2 separate regions of the Homo sapiens genome follow, and region 1 is linked to region 2. Evidence: promoter capture Hi-C in 16 types of primary human blood cells and fetal thymus (Javierre and others, 2016). All regions are on one chromosome and are shown on one strand. Each heading gives the region's core, a stretch centred on a gene start or on the middle of the fragment in contact. The rest is flanking DNA. Distances are from core to core; before and after follow the strand shown. Region 1 holds the start of STX16 (syntaxin 16). Region 2 holds the start of RTF2 (replication termination factor 2).

Region 1 (6,324 bases), core at 311-2,810, 2.2 Mb before region 2:
ACCACTCTGAGCCGGGAATGCTAGGCCTGGAAAGAATTCTGGGTAACAAGGCTGCAGGGTTACCAGACAGAAGGAAGACCCGAAGGAACAGAACTAAAAGCAGGACCCCAGGACACAAATAGTTGGGATTAACAGGCAAAGACTTTTTAGTGGTAAAAATCATGGAGCTGCTGGCATTTTCCATCATTGTCATACACCATGGCCAAATAAGATAGGCATGAGGGGTTATCACAAATGGGGACATTAGGCCAAATGACCTTTAGGTTCCTTCTGGCCCTTGAGGCTTTGTGTTTATCTGGTCACTGCGTATCCTCCTTAAATTCCTGTTTATTTGACATATTTGCCTGAATGCTGCAAAACCCTGTATGCACGCACAGGGACACACAATAACCCCACTACAACAACCAAATTCTAGTTTTTTCCCTCAAACTAGGATGCAAAAAATGCATGTTTAAATTTTTTGAATGGCATGGCTTTAGGTGTGCTTTGCTTTGAGGTGTATGATACACACTACTCTGCAATTAATTTCTGCAGCTTTTTCCTGAAATAAGATGTCAAAATTCAGGATTACAATTTTTTTTTTAAAAAGTCTGTTATTTTAGGTGTATTTTTAGTTGGTATCAAATGCATCAAGATCAAAGTCTACAGCTTTTTCTTCTAATTGGAAACTTAAAATTCCAGGTTATTATTTTTTAAATTAAGTTAAACTTAGGTTTAATTTCTTCCTTTCAAATTGCCTGAGTGTTAGACATGTATTTACAAATTGCCTCTTTTTAACTGTTTTACTTTACTATAACAAATATACTTACTTTAAGTTTCTATTTAAAAATTTTCAAACATGCAGAAAAGCCTACAAAATGGTAAAATGTCGCACACATACTCATCACTAGACTTAACAATGAGTAACAATTTGCCTTATTTGCTTCCTCTATTTTTGGAGGGGTTTAAGGACTTAGGTAAGATGCCTTGACATTTCACCACTAAACATTTCAGTAGGCATCTCTAATAAAATTAGCAAATGTAATGTATTATAATTAATTCCTTAATGTCACCTAATACCTAGTCCATATTCAAAATTTGACAGATACGATTTTGTTTGGTTTGCTACATGGCTTTGAAATTTACAAGTCAGAAACAAGGCTTTAAATTTTTTGTGAGCTAGATATGCAGTGAAAAGCATTGCTAAGAGTTACTCAATAGATTTTACAAATTGTGTTAAACATGGCTTTTGCTTCAAAATGTTTATAAAGCTTTTCCAACTTCCAGAAAAGTTGAAAAAATCATAACCTCTATTTAGTCTTGTTAGCATTTCGCCGTACTGTGTGCAGAATAGATTTTGTTACGAATCACCTGTAAGCAAAGTGAAGATGTAACACTTCAACCCTAAATACTTCAGAAATTTATGACATGCCATTTTTTAACACAATTAAAATATATAAATCTGTGTTTTATTTTTAAATTTGAATTCAGGCAAACTATGTTTGTTAGACTGCAAAACCTATTTTTGAGATAGTATGGATTGACTATAAGGATATTTTAAATGATATGACTGCTTTCAATGATCTGAGAAAGATTTTAAATGGTCAGACTAATATAAATATTAACATTTTCAATGGTATGACATTTAGAAAACATTTTTTAACGTTCTTAGAAATGTATTTTTAGTTGGGTTTAGAAATCTATTTTCAAAAAACTGTGAGTTAGCTAAATGTATCTGTATATACCCTGACATATCTATTTTTCCAAACTGTATACGTTAACTATCCATTTTTAATTATTCTGCTTAGCTTAAATATTTTTTAAAATTGCCTAACTTAGAAAATAATTTTCTAAAGTGGTCTGATTCAGAGATGCACTTTTAAAAAGCTTCCCGTCTCAGATACTAGGTTTTTAAACTGTCTGACTTAATCGGGAAAAAAAAAAAAACCCTCATGTTACCCAAAGGTTCAGGGTATTTTGAACCTTAATGATTAAAAATTGAAAAATAAACAATATGTTTTTCAATTAAAACTGATACCTTAGAAATCTTAATATGAGTTTCAGTAGTTTTTGAGGCAGCACAAAATCAAGTCATTTAAGGAACATGCAGTTCTTATTTAACATTACTGAAGTTCCATTAAGGAATTGAATTCATCCAATTTCTACTCGATTTCTTGGATTATTTCTTCTTCAAAATTAGCGCTAGAATTAGCCTGTTTCTATGCTACCAGACATCTTTACATTTATTTCAATATAATGTAATTCCTTTCCGTTTATAAATGTAAAAAAAACCCTTCAACTTCTTAATTAACTGAAATCTCACACACACTCTGTCCCTAGTTCTAGGCTGTTTGACCTGAGTTTACATGCTTTTATTCCTGAAACCGCTCACACGGCTTAAAATGACTTTTCTATCAGTTATATGGCCAAAGACATTCTCCACCTGTGACTTACAAAAAGGAGAAACTGTCTTTGTAGACATGATAATCATGACATATGGCAAAATTTTCCTGAAGCATTTAGATAAAGCCATAAAGAAAAAAATAAACTGGCAATACAGTCCCTAAGAGGTGAAATGAATGTTCCAAAATTGCCTAATATCAAGTATAACCCCCAAGAATGTGGTCCTGGGATGGCTATTTCCCGCCTGTTCCAACGCTGCTTCTATTCCAACCTAGTCTGCCTACAGCAGGTAGCCTGAACTACAGCCAGTTTCATAACTTCACTTTTCAATTGAAGACATTACAGAGCTAACGATCACTGTCTGGTATAGATCATCCAGACTCGCCCCTTATTTAACAGAGCAGTAAACTGAGGCTCAGAAAGGGAAAAGTAGCCCCCATTAAAAACAAACCCCAAACAGTAATTTTTCCAGGACCACCCTTAAAAAACGCTACTGCTAGGCTAACTAAAGGTTGTGGTTAATTAAAAAAAAAAAGTGCTATTTTACGGGGTTAATTTTCACATATACCTCCTCAGGCTTTTTTTAAAAAGTTCGAATGGAGAGGAAAGCTTAATTTCCTGTCTGGGAAATGGAAAGTGAAGAGGCTAGCACCTTGAGTCTCACAAACGCAAGCCCCCAGGAAGAACAGTGAGGCAATTATTCACAGGGAACAAGGCCACACAGAGGGCTGCGGGGCCGTTAAAAGAAAACGGGCGGAAAAACAAAACAAAACAAAACAACAACACAACTCCCTCCTCTTTGAGGGGAGGGAGTCGTTCATTTTGCAAGGATTTGGGTCTACGATCCGGCGACCCAGCCCTTAGGACCAAACTGAGGCTCATTACTGGGGGGAGGGGAGCTTCAAACAAAACGAAACAAAAAGGCTTCAGAAAGGCCCAATGCTTCCCAATGTTAGCGTTAAAACATATGTAAATTACAGGCGGCCTGTAGCGCAGTGACGCCAAGGCGGGGGGTGCGGGGGGGGGGGTGCTGCGGAAGTGAGGAGAAGACCGGGCAGAGGTGGAGCTGCGGCCTCACAGCACCGCTTCTTCCTCATCCAGGGCTACAGATGCCCCCTGACTCTAGCCAAGAGATCTTATTATTCTTAGTCTTATTATTCTTATCTTCTCTTTTTAAACAGAGAGACAGACAGAGACAGACAAACAGGCAGAGCCGCAGTGCACACGGTCCGTGTGTCGGAGAGGCCGCCAGGAGACTCACCGCAGCAATGCTACGTGAATGCAGAGGGCTGGAGGTGATGTGACTACTCACTTGCTCGGCTAACAGCTGCCGGTTTTGGATGGAATTATTCCGCAACAACAAGAAAGCGTCGGTTAAACGCCTGGTGGCCATGTCTCACCCTTTGCGACCCCCCTCTCAGGGGCCCCCCGCCCACTTATATTCCTGATTTATTCACTTTCTTTCTCGTGGCCCGGCTGGCCCACCCTTTCACGGAAGCTTCTCGACAAGGCCTCAGGCCTCAAGCCAAAAAGATGCAGCTGTGCGCTTCGCCAAGGCGTAGAGACCCCTCCCCAAATAACTACCTAGGCTTTCCAATTGTCTGACTCCCCCTACCCAGGGCAGACTTCGATCTCTAAGCACTTGAATCCCCCCAATCCTTGCGTAGCGATCCAACGTCCCAGAGACCCCACCCCAATCCAACCTTGGATCTACAAGCGTCTAACTCGCCAATCCGGCTCTAGACTGGGAGGCCCTGAAGCCCCCTACTCCCTGAGACCCCCCGGAGGTCTCTGCTCTCTACCCCTAACTTTGGCTCGTAAGCGTCTAGGCCGTGCCCTGAGGTCTGGCTGTGACTCAGTTTCCGCACCAGAGGCCTGGCCTAGGCCCTCTTTGGACAACCGGAGCCAGGCTTGGGGCCTGGACTCGAGGGCGCCTGCAGCTCCCTTCTGGGGACTTGTCTGAACCTGCTGAGGCCCTGCCCGACCTCCTGACCCCTTCCTTTCCTGGACGGCCTGGTCCTCCACTGCCAGCAGGCTGCCGGCCTGCAGGAAGACAGCAGGGCCTGCCTCCCCGGCCTTCTCACTCCTCTTCTCCGGCTCCCTCCATCCCCGGATCTGACTGCAGCTCAGCCCCGGACCGTTTCCGTGCTGTGGTCCCGGGTTCTGGCGTTCCCCCCTGGCCCTCTTCCTGTCCGTCCCTCGCGAGTGCCCCCCTGCGACGCTCGCAAGCCTTGCTCGCAACGTTCCGGGCGCGGGAGCTCCCTGCACTCCTGCCCCGGGGCACGGGAGTGCTCCGCCCTCTCCCGGGGTGCTCCTCGGGCGCCCTGTTTCGCCTCCCCCAACTGGGTCCAGGCACTAGGAGCAGGCCAACGAGCAGGCCTGAGCCTGGGGAGCGTGGCCCCCAGGCTGCAAACCGCTGCCAGGGCCCTTGGTCGCTGAATTAGAGTGGAAGTTGCGCGGCAGGCAAATTTGGGCTCCCCAAGAACTGAAGTTTTGGGCGCGGGGAGTTGGAGCGGGAGAGGAAAAGTTGGAGACGACTGCCTCTGCAGGCCGAGCACGCTCTACTGCAGGCGGCGGCGCTCGCTTTTTTTTTTTTTTTTCCCACTCTGGAAAAAGATGTATCCGACAAACAACCACGAGGAAATAAAAGGAAAAAAAAAAAAAAAAAAGGAACAAGAACTCCAGGCAGCCTGGCCGCGCCGCCGCTGGCAGTCGGGGGTCGTCGGGGGCGCCCGCCCTCCCCAGCTGCCGCTTTCTGTAGGGGGCACTGCAGGGTCGTGGAATCTCAAGTGGAAAAGTTCCCCGAAAACTTTGACACCTCCCACCCCCCTCCCCGCGAAAAAAATCTCTGTTCCCTGCCTGGGCCCTGGCCCTGCGACCCCCGCGCCCCCCCGTGCCCCGGGCCGGGTTTTCCACGGTTGGCCGGGCCCAGGGCGCCCTAAGCACCTCGACTTGCCGCCCCGGGCCAGGTCGGCGGGGTTCGTGCAGGGGCTCCGTGGGGCCGCGTCGGGCAGGGGCCGCCCGGGCCCGAGCACGGCACCCACAAACAGGCTGGCGTCCCGCGACGGAGACCCGGGTCCGGCCCGGAGCCGCCCGGGAGGCTTGAGGCCAAGGGCCTGGCCCAGCGCGCGGCCGGAGCGGGTCGGGGGCGCAGAGCTGTGCGGCGGCGCCTTCCGGGCCCCGGGCCTGTGCAGGGCCGGCTTCCCCTTGCGGGGCGAGGCTGCGGGCCGGGCTGCGGTGCGGGGTTCCAACAAAGGACCGAGGCCCCAGAAGCGGCCCCCACGCGTCCTTTGTTTCTGCGTGGAACAAACTTTACACACGTGTGTGTTTTCCGAGGGTTTCCCGTGTGCTGAGCGCTTGCAAAGCGGAGTCGCGCCCGGGGAGACGCGAAGCCGGTGCCCGCGGCTCACCCAGGGACCCCAGCCAGACAGCGGCACCCGCGGGGCGCGTGCGGGACCCCCAGGCGACCGGGGGAAGCACCGGTAACCGCCCCCCACCCGTGCTTTTTCTCTCACGGAGAATGTTCCCGCGCGTTCGTTGTGCAACTAAAAATTAATGTGAAACATCCATTGAGGCAAATAACAAAATGCATCCAACGAAACCCACATAAAATCGAGAGAGCCGCGAGCAGGGCTGGGCGAGTTCACTGTGAGGACCGGCTCTGGCTTCCGCGCAGCGCGGAGAGCAGGGCGCTCGCCCGGGGACGCTTCGCAGCGGTGGAAGATTCGGGCGACAGGGGACTGGGTCGCCGCGCGGGCCGGGCTGGAGGCTGCAGGGACTTGCTGACAGGCCATCCAAAGACAGAGAGGCCCTGGGGAGGGAAATTCGGGGAGCCCGTGTGCTTAGCGTAGCGCCCCGGGAAATATTTGCCCAATAAGGGAGAGTTTGTCCCCACACTGCGGCAGAACCCCCCTGCGAGCTCTGACCCCAGCAGCACGGCCA
Region 2 (6,321 bases), core at 2,170-4,669:
CCTGTGTTGCCCAGGCTGTTCTCCAACTGCTGAGCTCAAGTGATTCTCCTGCCTCGATCTCCCAAAGGGCTGAGTTTACAGGCGTAAGCCAACACACCTGGCCCTCTGAATTTAATTTTTAAAGTAAAAACTGCTTAAGTGCTTACTGTGTGCCAGGCACTGTGCTAAGCAGTTTCCATAACTTTTTAATCCTCAGAAAAACTCTATGAGTTAGTATTTTTACTTTTGAAGATGAGGAAAGTGAGGCACCAAGAGATTAGGTTATATTCAAAAAGCACCTCAGAGAGTTGGGGACAGGGAGAAAAGTGACAAATCACTCCTTATCCAGGGCTTTGAAAATTGTTTCCCCCGAAAAAGCAGTAAAAAATGTGTTTACCAGGGTCTCTCTTCTTTCCTAGGGTCTTTCTTCTTTTAAGTTTTTACATATCTGTACTGGAAAGACAAGTACAAGTGGTTTTGTTTTGTTTTGTTTTTTTTTGAGACGGAGTCTTGCTCTGTCGCCCAGGCTGGAGTGCAGTGGCGCTATCTTGGCTCACTGCAAGCTCTGCCTCCTGGGTTCACGCCATTCTCCTGCCTCAGCCTCCCGAGTAGCTGGGACTACAGGCACCTGCCACCATGCCCGGCAACTTTTTTGTATTTTTAGTGGAGACAGGGTTTCACTGTGTTAGCCAGGATGGTCTCGATCTCCTGACCTCATGATCCGCCTGCTTCAGCCTCCCAAAGTGCTGGGATTACAGGCGTGAGCCACCGCGCCTGGCCAGACAAGTGTTTTTTCTATACTTTCACTCACAACACTCAATACTTCCAGAACACTTCGGACAAAATGTATGGGATTTTCCCCACACCAACCAATTCTCTGATAGCAGCCAGGTGTCTTACAATTAAACTCAATTCTGATACCACCTATTTGGATATGGCCTCAGATCCCAAAGGTTAAGGGCTCAGTCCCATAATACTGTCCCTACCCCGACTTTAGATGCCAATCACAAGTTCAAGTTGTCACCTGCACTTCTGACTGTCTATAAATCAAAGGCTACCACGATCCCCCCGCCCAGTTTGATGATTTGCTAGTGTCTCACAGATATGGGGAAAGAGTTTAGTTACCATTGCTGATTTATTACAAATACATTTTAAAGGATACAAATAAATAGCCAGATAAAGAAGTAATCTGGAAGGGTCCCAAGTGCAGGGCTGTCCTCATGGAGTTGGGGTAACTCTCCTGGCATGTGGATGTTGTCGGCAACCCAGAAAATCTCCAAACCCTCAACTTCAGGGATCTTTATGGAGACCCCACCACGTAGGCATGATGGATTATTAACTCCATGTCCAATTCCTCTTCTCCTCCCTGAAGGATGGGGGTGAGGTGGGGCTGAAAGTTCCAGGCTTCTAATCTTGGCTTGGTGTTTCTGGTGACCAGGCCCCATCCAGGAGCCCACCAATAATTGCCTTATTAGAACAAAAGATGATCCCGTCACCCAGGAAATTACAAGGAATTTAGGTGCTCTGCGTTAGGAACCAGGGCAGATTTCACAATATTGATCCGAAATGTAAGCTCCACCAGGGCTAGACTCTGCCTTGTTCACTGCTATATCCCTGGGGCCTACAACAATGTATATATGGTAACCACTTATTAAGCATTTGTTGTGTGAATAGTTATAATAAAAATCCATCCTGCCTAGGCATTCTGGCTTTTTTGAATCGCTCTTCCTTCTTTTCTACCCTCTTCCGACACCTGTTTCTTGTCAAGCCTTTCATTAAGCTACTCCTTTTCAGCCCTGGGCACAAGAAAACAAAACTGAGCTAAACACTTTTTTGGTGAAAGCCAAAAAACCACTCATGAATGCTAATTATCCAGCATTCGCCTGTTTACATGTACGTATGATCAGAGGGTACACTTCATCCTCTTGGGTATTCATTCATTCCCATATTCACACATACTTATTAGGTGTCTATTATGTGGCTGACACATGGTAGGGGTTACAGAGGTAAGACACACAAGGTTCCTGTCTACGTGGGAAAGAGACAATAAACAACACAGTGGTAGGCACTGTTAAGAAGAGAAGAGAGAATATTGGAAGTGAGGCACATTTCAGTTACAGTGGACAGATGACATTTGAGTAAAAAACTGAATGAAGTAAAGAAACTCATCATGTGACAATCTCAGTGAAGAGTATTTCAGATTGATGAACTCACACTCCAGGTTGAAGAACAAGAGGCCTGTTTAGCTAGAACAGTATGAAAGAGGTGGAGAGGGGCAGAAGATGAGGTCAGAAACATAGGCAAGGTCTGCTCAAGGGTCTGACGAGATTTTATTCTTAATGTGATGGGAAGCCACTGGAATGCTTCAAATACAATAGTGACTTAAGGGGTTTACCTTTTAAACAAGCTCTCCAGCTCCTGAATCAGAATACATGAAGTCTCCACGTGTGCTTTACAAATATTTTTGTAAAGAAGTCTCTACTAGGTGCTTTACAAATATTTTATCATTAAAAAGTAATTACTTGTGCTAACTTTGAAATCCCAAATAAGTGGATGGGAATCCTGGCTTCACTACCTACCAGCTGTGTGATCTTAGTCACCTTAATATCCCTGGACTCAATGTCCCCGTCAGTAGCAAAGAAATTATTATAATTTCCTCGATTACTTGTGAGATCAGGGATTATTCACTCATTTGTTTATTCGAAATATTTAGTGTGCCAGGAACCATGCTAGTTGCAGAGAAAAAAAGGGTACAGCCTCTGCTATCAGGAACTTACCGTCTAGCGGGGAAGACTTGATACAAATCAACCACGTACAGCCGTGTGCAGGCTAAGACAGTTTATAAAAGGATGTGGTAAGGGAACAGTTTGGGAAGGCTTCTCTGAGCAAATGAAGTTAGTGTATACAAAACTCAGTATACACTAGGTATTTGTATTATTGCTACTAGTCGCAGGTAGGGTTCAAATCCTGGCTCTGCCATTTACTAGCTTTGCAAATTTCTCCTTTTGAGCCTCAACTTCCATGTCTGAAAATGAGGACAACAGTATGTAGCTATAGGGCTATTGTGATAATTACATGAGATACCCCCTGTTAAGATTACTGTCCAGTGAATGGCAATAGTCAGCACCCATTGAATGTCCACTCTTAATACTGTTGTTAATTTTGAGTCCTCTGAATGGAATAAAAGACCGCAGCCAGGTCTGGAACTCCGCTGGCTCCCCCTTCTTACTTCCTCTCGTTTTCTGGGGTCGTCAAATTCCCACCACCCCCGGTCGCCAAGAGCCGGCCCACATCACTGACCTTCTCAACCTTCTTCGGCCCCTTCACCAGTTCATGCCTCTTGGGGATTGTTCCCCCGTCGCAACCCATCGCAGGACGGGAGTCAGAGCCAGCAGCAAACCCCCAAAGCTGTCACTTCCGGGATTTCCGGCGAAATCCGCAGCCACTTCCGGCGCACCGCCGTGACGCAGCACGCTGGTCGTGGCGTAGCGGGGCGGGGCGGGGCGGCACGCTAGGCGCGGCGTAGCGGGGCAGGGCGAGGCCGTTACCAAGTGCCGGTTGTCATGGAGAGCGTCGCTTGGAGGCTGGGCGTGGGCGGGTTTCCTCGTTCCCGTGAGACCCTGGGTTTCTGCTGCACAATCGGAATCACTCGCCCACGCTCCGGGAGGGCAGCGAGGGCGTGGGCGGCCCGTGCGCATCCACCGCTCTTTGACCCTATCCCACGCCAGCTTGTGTGGCTGCGGAGCGGGCACATCCCTGGACTGAGAGCGCCTTGAGGAAAAGGGCCGCCCTCCTGTTTCTGCGATTAAGGATGCCTATGAACGGAATCTGCTGTATCAATGGACATTTTTGTGTTTAAAAGGAGAACGCATCTTTCTTGAGCGCCAACTGTGACTCAAGCACTCACAACAAATCTTGTGAAGTGATGTTACAACAGATTCTAGGAAGTAAGACCCTCCCTTAAGGCCTGGAACTTTCTGGTGTTGCCATGCATATTGTAGATGGCATGTGTGTGAAATTTTGCATACAGTTTGTGCGTGTGTGTATTTCATTCACAGTTTCCTGAAGCCCAGGCTAAAAAAATTTTATTAACAATCAAGTATCATTAATAGACGATATAATAGTTCTTATAAAATATACACTGATGTTGCCATGCCCGTTCCAAGAGTCAGGCTGTATTTTATCTATAAGAACACAAATCCCTTGCTAAAAATTCATGATTGTCTGTCTGCTCTTAGGCGATTGTCTATCTCTCTGTTTGTTCCTTTAATTATTATAAATATTATGGGAAAGTGCCTATAATCCCAGCACTTTGGGAGGCCGAGACGGGAGGAGCACCTGAGCCCAGGAGTTCCAGGTCAGCCTGGACAACATGGTGAGACACCATCTTGAAAGAAAAAGAAAAATTAGCCAGGCGTTGTGGTAAGCTTTTGTAGTCCTAGCGGCTCCGGAGGCTGAGGGGGTAGGAAGGATTGCCTGAGCCCAGGAATTCAAGGTTGCAGTGAGCTTATGATTATGCCACTGCACTCCAGCCTAGGCAACAGAGCAAGACTCTGTCATTAATATGTATGTATGTATGTATGTATGTATTTGTACATATATATGATGGGAAAATTTCTCCATTGCCAAGAAGGCAGATCTTTATGATTGGATATTACCCTATTGACCTACGTGAAACATAAAAACGCTGAAAATATTTTTTACTTGGGAAGAGTTGCCCAGAAAATACGTGGATGTGGAAACTTCAAGGGCTATATGTAAGCTTGGGGTACTTGTTACTGTGATTAATGAGAATTTTAAAAAATAATCCCTTTAATTAGTTGGTCTCTGATTGATTTATGATTTATTTCTATGCTAACCACAATAACTGTAAGCTCTATGAGGGTAGGGACTTCATTTTGTTTTGTTTTGTTTTAGACAGAGTCTCGATCTGTTGCCCAGACTGGAGTGCAGTGATGTGATCTCGGCTCACTGCAACCTCAACCTCCCAGGATCAAAGCGATTCTCCTGCTTCAGCCTCCCCAGTCGCTGAGATTACAGGCGCCCGCCACCATGCTGGGCTAATTTTTGTATTTTTAGTAGAGACGGGGCTTCACCGTGATGGCCAGGCTGGTCTCAAACTCCTGATCTCAGGTGATCCACCTGCCTCGGCCTCCCAAAGTGCTGGGATTACAGCCGTGAGCCACCAAGCCCGGCCAGGACTTTTATTCCACATTGTATCATCAGTGCCTAGAAGAGTCTTTGGCACACTCAATATATGAGTACATTTCCTCAGTAAACCAAAAGAAAGTACAGATTCATTGAGAAAGGGGTGAAAAGCCTAGTTTTGGCAGATACTAAAACTGGTTAGTACTATTAGAATTCCATTTACTGGTGAGGAAACAGAAGCGTGGAAAGATCAAATGACTCCTTCAAGGTCACATAGGCAGTGAGAGACCCGGGAATGAGTGCTAGGATTAGTTCTTTCTCACAGCAAAGGAAAGAAAGTCAAATACAGAAGAGCAGAAACACCAGCATCTTTAGAAAGACTCAAACCAGTGTTCTTTTCTCATTTGGGGAAGAAAAAACAAAAATAGCGGCTCTTTATTAAGCCATGACCATGCGTGCACTGAGAGATTTGTAGGCATTTTTTCACTTTGGGCTCACAATAACCTTAAGAGTTAGAAGGTATAATCCCTCTTGTTTTACAAATGAAAACCCCAAGACTCAGATGTGCAAGTTGTCTTTGTTCAGAGTCTCATAGCTGCTGAGTAAAAGGAGTATAAGATGAGGGGCTGTCTCCGATGAGGCCCGTCTGACTTAACTGCTTCCCCAAATGCTGCTGATAAAACCCAGCAGTACCGGCTGTGCTGGTGTTCTAGCTCAGGCAGCTGGACTTTTTTCTCTTCCTCATTGGTTTCCTCTTTTAGAATATTGGTCTCTAGGCTACTCTGTGCCTCAGACTATACGCAGCTAGAACTTTTGTGAGGTTTATTATCATTGGTAGCAAATATGTGTTGAGAGCTGGCTGCCATGTCAGGTGCTGTGTTCAGCGCTTTATTGGACTTGAGCCGTTTTATTCTCCCGGCTCTACTGGGAAGCAGATGTCATCATTGTCTGCTTCTTCTTCCACTGCCTTGTTGAATGAACTAATAAAGGTTATTCCCTTACAAGCATCTTCGGAGACAACTTTGTCCTAGCCAAGCCATGGATTTTTGGGGAAGCAGAGGAATGAAATGATAAAAAGGAAAATCATTACCCTCTAGTAAAACCAGTATTTCTTAACCTTTTGGGAGTCATTGGACCTGTTTGAGAATTTGATGAAAACTTTGAACTAAATCTCCAGAAAAGTATTGATTAGCA

What was found. Contacts are between HindIII fragments. The CHiCAGO score rates a contact against its expected background, and 5 or more counts as called.
Region 1: a fragment that was not itself captured here is called in contact with the fragment with the promoter of RTF2 in region 2 in 1 of 17 cell types (total B cells); the score reaches 7.8 in total B cells.

The regions. Positions count from the first base shown.
Region 1 is chr20:58,649,458-58,655,781 of GRCh38, reverse strand. It overlaps STX16 (syntaxin 16), which reads right to left and starts at 4,499. Exons shown (of 9, transcript NM_001001433.3): 1 at 3,644-4,499. The coding sequence starts at 3,775. It overlaps STX16-NPEPL1 (STX16-NPEPL1 readthrough (NMD candidate)), which reads right to left and starts at 4,529. Exons shown (of 23, transcript NR_037945.1): 1 at 3,644-4,529. It overlaps LOC107985410 (a long non-coding RNA gene), which reads left to right and starts at 6,147. Exons shown (of 3, transcript XR_005647058.2): 1 at 6,147-6,324. RefSeq lists enhancers at 3,130-3,633, 3,471-3,740 and a silencer at 5,237-5,596. The HindIII fragment of the contact is 616 bases long and covers 1,253-1,868 here.
Region 2 is chr20:56,465,725-56,472,045 of GRCh38, reverse strand. It overlaps RTF2 (replication termination factor 2), which reads right to left and starts at 3,419. Exons shown (of 9, transcript NM_016407.5): 1 at 3,280-3,419. The coding sequence starts at 3,348. The HindIII fragment of the contact is 9,363 bases long and covers 1-4,408 here.